2 separate regions of the Homo sapiens genome follow, and region 1 is linked to region 2. The links are contacts of gene promoters, found by promoter capture Hi-C in human tissues and cell types (Jung and others, 2019). All regions are on one chromosome and are shown on one strand. The core of a region is centred on a gene start or on the middle of the fragment in contact, and the rest is flanking DNA. Distances in the headings are between cores, read along the strand shown.

Region 1 (3,270 bases), core at 193-2,692, 470 kb before region 2:
TTCTACTATGTCCAGATAATTTTTGTTTGCTTGTTTGTTTTTAAAAAAAGAGTCTTGGCTGGGCGCGGTATCTCACACCTGTAATGCCAGCACTTTGGGAGGCCGAGGCAGGTGGATCACGAGGTCAGAAGTTCGAGACCATCCTGGCTAACACGGTGAAACCCTGTCTCTACTAAAAATACAAAAAATTAGCCGGGCGTGGTGGCGGGTGCCTGTAGTCCCAGCTATTTGGGAGGCTGAGGCAGGAGAATGGCGTGAACCTGGGAGGCAGAGCTTGCAGTGAGCTGAGATTGCGCCATTGCACTCCAGCCTGGGCGACACAGCGAGACTCCATCTCAAAAAAAAAATTAGCCAGGCGTGGTGGCGGGCACTTGTAGTCCCAGCTACTTGGGAGGCTGAGGCAGAAGAATGGCATGAACCCGGGAGGTGAAGCTTGCAGTGAGCCGAGATTGCACCACTGCACTCCAGCCTGGGCAATAGAGCAAGACTCCGTCTCAAAACAAACAAACAAACAAATAAACAAACAAAAAAAGTTAGCTGGACATGGTGGCATGCACCTGTAATCCCAGCTAGTCTAGAGGCTGAGGCAGGAGAATCGCTTGAACTCACAAGGCAGAGGTTGCAGTGAGCCAAGATTGCACCGCTGCACTCCAGCCTGGACTGCAGAGTGAGATTCTGTTTCAAAAGAAAACAAAACAACAACGAAAGTTACTGGGTCTGTCGCCACCATCTGAAACAGTGGTCCATGTGCTTGACAATTCCTGATAGGATCTATGGAAGCTTCTTTGCTCTTCAGAAAATAAGAAGAAATGAAATGGGATTCTCAAACATTAAGTCACAGCAGATTTTTTGGTTCTCCAGCAGGCTATATTATGGCCCAACTTGGGCAAACTGTACTTATTTATCTTTCTTTTTAATTTTTCTCAGCTTCTGTTCTGCTCTAACTCAGGCACATTTTAAAACTGATGGGTGGCCAGGCACGGTGGCTCACGCCTGTAATCCCAACACTTTGGGAGGCTAAAGTGGGAGGATCACGAGGTCAGGAGTTCGAGACCAGCCTGGCCAACATGGTGAAACCCCGTCTCTACTAAAAATACAAAAAATTAGCCAGGCGTGGTGGCACACGCCTGTAATTGCAACTACTCAGGAGGCTGAGGCAAGAAAATTGCTTGAACCCGGGACGCAGAGGTTGCACTGAGCCAAGATCATGCCACTGCACTCCAGCCTGGTCGACACAGCAAGGCGCTGTCTCAAAAACAAAAACAAAAACAAAAAAACCCCAAAACTGGCCGGGCACGGTGGCTCACGCCTGTAATCCTGGCACTTTGGGAGGCTGAGGTGGGTGGATCACAAGGTCAGGAGACTGAGACCATCCTGGCTAATCGGTGAAATCCCGTCTCTACTAAAAATACAAAAAATTAGCCGGGTGTGGTGGTGGGTGCCTGTAGTCCCAGTTACTCGGGAGGCTGAGGCAGGAGAATGGTGTGAACCTGGGAGATGGAGCTTGCAGTAAGCTGAGATTGCGCCACTGCACTCCAGCCTGGGCCACAGCGAGACTCCGTCTCAAAAAAAAAAAAAAAAAATTAATTGGCGGGCGCGGTGGCTCACGCCTGTAATCCCAGCACTTTGGGAGGCCGAGGCGGGCGGATCATCTGAGGTCTGGAGTCTGAGACCAGCCTGACCAACATGGAGAAACCCCATCTCTACTAAAAATACAAAATTAATGGCGCATGCCTGTAATCCCAGCTACTCGGGAGGCTGAAGCAGAAGAATTGCTTGAACCCGGGAGACAGAGGTTGTGGTGAGCTGAGATCATGCCATTGCACTCCAGCCTGGGCAACAAGAGCAAAACTCCATCTCAAAAAAAAAAAAAAAATTTTTATGCTTTGGGGCAGTGGCAGTGGTAACGGGGCTGTGTGCAGGAGGAGCATCGATCGGGCAGGGTGGATGTGGGCTGGGGCAGCCCCGGGTCCCAGGCCCTGCAACGGTGTGCAGGGCGGGAGTGCCCAGTCGGGCTGCATTCCCAGGTGCACGGCGTGCCACTGAGCTGCTCACGTAGCTGCCACCATCTGTGCTGGGCCCAGCCGAGACGCAGAACCTCGTGGACATGACCTAGGAAGACCCAGACAGTGTGCCCCACGGATGTCCTGGATCAAAGGGACCCAGGTTGGTGATTACTTCTACTCCTTTGGCGGCTGTTATTGGCACGCAGCCTACCGGTAGCTGCAGCAAGGGCCATCCTGGACAAGCTTGTGCAGTCCACCCTCTCGGACCTCAGGGTGTACCTGGGGGCATCCACGCCAGACTTGTAGGAGCAGTCCCCATGGCACCGACTGACACTTCTAAGAGCCCAGAAGATACATCTGGCCCCCGTAGGCTGGGCTGGCAGAAGGGATAGCTGAGATGCGTTCTCTTTGCACTTGGTGGGGAGGGTCTGACTCGAGACACTTCCCCAACAGTAGGGAATAAAATTGTCATGGTTGAATAGACCGATTGTGGATTGTGTTCCATCTACTGAGACTGGCACACTGCCTCCTGAAATGAAAGTGGATCTCATCACCAGAGGAGAAATGAGGAACTGCGTATCAGCTAGCCTTCACTGTGTAACAGACCATCCCAAAATTTGGCAGCAAAAACAGGTCACGTATTTGTCCACAATTCTGTGGGTTGGCAATCTGCACTGGGCTCACCTGCGGACCCTCATGGAGCTGTGGTCATTTGTCACATCCGCTACACCTGGATGGTCTAGGACAGCCTGACTCACTTGTCTGGCAGGTGACAGGTTGTTGGTTGGGGTGGCCTGTCTAGCAGGCTGCTTCAGCCTTAGGGCTCCAGGAGAGTGAGAGTAGAAGCTGCAAGATTTCTTGGGTTCTGGGCCTGGAACTGGGGCTGGGACAACGTCAGTTCTACTAAGTTCTTTTGATCAGAGCAAATCACAAGGCTTTGCCCGGATTCAAGGGATGAGAAAGAGACCGTATGTCTTGATGAGAGGAACCACAAAGAATGTGTGGCCATTTTTCACCTAATGCAAATAACTTTGGGTGGGGAAATAACAATATTTATCTCTCTCAGGGGACCTCACTCTGCCTAGTCTGAAGGCAAAAAGACACTGTCCTGGCCGTCAGGGTCTTGGGGAAGAGGTGTTGAGGCAGGGTGAGGCCTCTTCAAGGCTGGATCCACTATAATAGGGGCACCATGTTTTCTGCACTGGTGGGATGGGGTTTTACTGGGTGGGATGTTCCAGAGGGGCTTCTGAAAGCCAAGAGTCCT
Region 2 (3,106 bases), core at 6-2,505:
TTAAGATGGGGGCTTTATTTCCATTGAAATCTCTGGCATTTAAACTTGGGATGGAACCCGGAGGCGGCGTCCATCAAGGAGGAACAACCCCAAGGCGCATGCAGGACGGGCCTGGGAGCTCCCGGGAGCAAGGGAGCTGGGGGGTCTGGGGGCCTGGGAGGTTGGGGGGTCTGGGGGGTTGGGGGGTCTGAGGGGTTGGGGGTATATGGGGGGTTGGGGGATCTGGGGGTTTTGGGGGGTCTGAGGGGTTGGAAGGGTCTGCGGAGGTTGGGGGGGGCCGCGACACCTGCAGCGCCCCCCCACCCTGCGCGCTGGCCCAGCTAGGAGAGGGCCCGGGGACACCGACAGGATTGAAGCCTTTGATGAGCGGACGGACGTCCCCAGTTCCTTCGGGGAGCTCCTTTAAACATGTTTGCCGAAAGCTGCGGGCGCCGCGGGACGCACAGAGCTGTCTTTTCTCCGAGGGTGGCTCAGAGGCAGAGCCCCGGAAAAACCCACGCGCCCGGCCTGTGGGGCAGCGACGCCGCCCAGACCCCGGGGCCGCCGAGACTCACGGGGGAGCGTCCTGAGACCGCAGAGCCCTGACCCGTCCGAGAGGCGAAGCCCCGGGAGCCCTCTGGGTCCGAGCCGTCCCAGTCCCGCACCCAAGGCAGGGTCTCTCCCGCCGCGCTCCGACACCGGCCGCCGAGGTCCCAGCACTGGCGCCGGCCGCGGACCTGGGGCGCATTTGGCGGCGGCTCGCGAGGCGCTCGGGGCGCTCCGTGGGTCTGGAGGGCGCTGGCCCCGCGCGCCCGCGGCCAAACCTGGTGCAGCCGCGCCGCCTTCTCCGATGAAGCCGAAGCCGCCCCGGCCGCCCCCAAACGCTCCGCCTCCGCCTCCGCCTAAACCGGCGGAACGCTAAGGACGCCGACGCTTGTGCGGTCGCCCGGGAGACCCCGACGACGCCCCGCCCCGTCTCCCGGCAACGCCAAGCAGCCGGCGCGCGAGGAATCCGGGGGAATGTAGTCCCTCCGTGTCAGGGACCCGAGACATGCGCTGGTTCTTCTAGGACTACATTTCCCAGGGCGCTTCGCGCCCCGCCCCGGCGCCCCACCCACGGCCGCGCGCGATGGTACCACCAGGCGAGGGCGGCTCTCGCGCGGGCCGCCGGGAGTTGTAGTTTTCTTTGGGAGCTGCGGGGCCTGGCGCCGGGGCCGGGGCGGAAGAAAGACTACAAGTCCCAGGGGGCGCGGCGCCACCGCCTGAGGGCGGGGTGTACGAAAGAGAAACCCGGAGGGCGCCGGGGTGAGTGAGGGGCTGGGGGCAGGCGTGAGGGTAGCGGGTTGGGGCGCTGGGGTCCGTCTGGGCGGCCGGGTCGGCGCAGGGAGTGCGAGAGGCAGACAAAGGTCGGCGGCCCTGGCCCGGCCCGAGGGACGTTCCCTGCGCGTCCCCCATTGTGCGGCGCGCGGAGGAGCCGCCAGCGCCTGGGCCCGCGTCCTCGTCGCCGCCTCCCAACGAGCCTGGCCGCGGTCCTATGGGGGAAAGGCGCCCGGGCTGAGCGGGACGCCTGGGGAGGGGAAGGGGCGTCTGAGGAGGGCAGGGGGACCCCGGGGAGGGGTGGGGAGGGGGTCCCTAAGGAGGGGAGGGGGTTCCCGGAGCGGGGAGGGGGGGTCCCTGGGGAGGGGAAAGGTTCCCGGGGCAGGGAAGGGGGTCCCTGGGGAGGGGAGGGGGTCCCTGGGGAGGGAGGGGGGTCCCTGGGGAGGGGAAGGGTTCCCGGGGCAGGGAAGGGGGTCCCTGGGGAGGGGAGGGGGTCTCTGGGGGAGAGGGGGCACCTGGGGAGGGGAGGGGGTTCTCGGGGCAGGGAGGGGGTCCCTGGGGAGGGGATGGGACGGGCGCCCGGGGGAAGAAAGGGGGCGCGTTCGCCTCGCCTTCCCGGCAGCCGGGAGTGGGGGCACCGGCGCGGTCCCCGGTGTCCTAGAAGTCGGCCACGATTCAGGTCTTTTTCCCGCGAGGCTTTAGGATTTGTTTTTGTCCGTTTGTCACCTGGAGTAGCCGAGGGCTAGTCGGGGTGCAGTTTTTCGGGAGCGCGTGTTCCGGTGGCAGCGAGTCGATGATTGAGTTTGGGTGTAATTTAAGCCCAGGTGTTCGGGGGCATTTCTTACCGCGTTTCAAAGCAAACGCGGCTTCTTCCCCGGGAACTATTTTGTGGCTGAATTCTTAGCCGCCTCGTCCTGTTAAATTTCAGGATGTCAAACTTGGCCTCCTTTTTTTGGTTTTCATTTTTCTTAGTATTACCAGGGTGTGCAGAGAAGGCAGAGCTGCGTCTTCCTCTTTTATTTTTCCGTAAGTTACTGGGGTACAGGTGGTGTTTGGTTACTTGGTTACATGGGTAAGCTCTTTAGTGGTGATTTGTGAGATTTTGGTGCTCCCATCACCCGAGCAGTACGCACTGCACCCTATTTGTAGCTTTTTATCCTTGTCCCCCTCCCACCCTTCCCTCCGAGTCCCCAAAGTCCAGTGTATCGTTCTTAGGCGTCTTCCTGTTTCCTGATGGCTTAACCTGGGAAACCCTCGCAGAGGGAGCCGGTTTTGAGCCCCAGGGTAGGGGCGGCCGCCTGGGATGTTCAGTGATGCGCCTGATTACTCAGGTTTATGTTCCCCGTTTGCATTCAGCCAGGATCCGTCATGGCCACGTTGTTTTTAACATACATGTTTATGAATTATACAGAAACGTTGTTTTCCTGACACACATCCCGCCCCCAGTACTCCTCCTAAAAGCCAGTCAGGCAGGTGTTTCCACACGCAGTCACCTCAGCCCTGGGGTGCACAGGCAGCATCCCGGGAACCCCTGAGATACCTCCCAGCTGCTCCCTGCCTTGCGGCTGCTCTCCACCTGAGCTTTGACTTACTGGGTAGCTCATTTAAAGAACAGCTAGCGCTGTGGGTGCTGGGGTGGGAGATCGCTTGAGACCAGTCTGGGCAACATAGGGAGACCTCGTCTCTATAAAAAATAAAAAATATTATCCAGGCATGGGGGCAAGCACCTGTGGCCCGTTACAGTAGGTAGCTAGTCAGACATGAGCAGGGCAGAAGAGGGGCCCCCCTCTACCAGGGACATTTGGCTGGT

The links. The method cuts DNA at HindIII sites, captures the fragments that hold promoters and counts their contacts. A contact is called where the count stands out against the background at its distance.
Region 1: a fragment that was not itself captured here is called in contact with the fragment with the promoter of C1orf159 in region 2 in 1 of the 25 tissues and cell types used here (dorsolateral prefrontal cortex).

What each region holds. Positions count from the first base shown.
Region 1 is chr1:1,582,549-1,585,818 of GRCh38, reverse strand. No RefSeq gene overlaps it. Among named protein-coding and RNA genes, the nearest start is that of SSU72-AS1, 9.2 kb to the right of the region's middle. The HindIII fragment of the contact is 3,924 bases long and covers 1-3,270 here.
Region 2 is chr1:1,114,238-1,117,343 of GRCh38, reverse strand. C1orf159 (chromosome 1 open reading frame 159) reads left to right here and starts at 1,255. Exons shown (of 10, transcript NM_017891.5): 1 at 1,255-1,284. RefSeq lists silencers at 585-634, 675-794, 965-1,564. The HindIII fragment of the contact is 14,802 bases long and covers 1-3,106 here.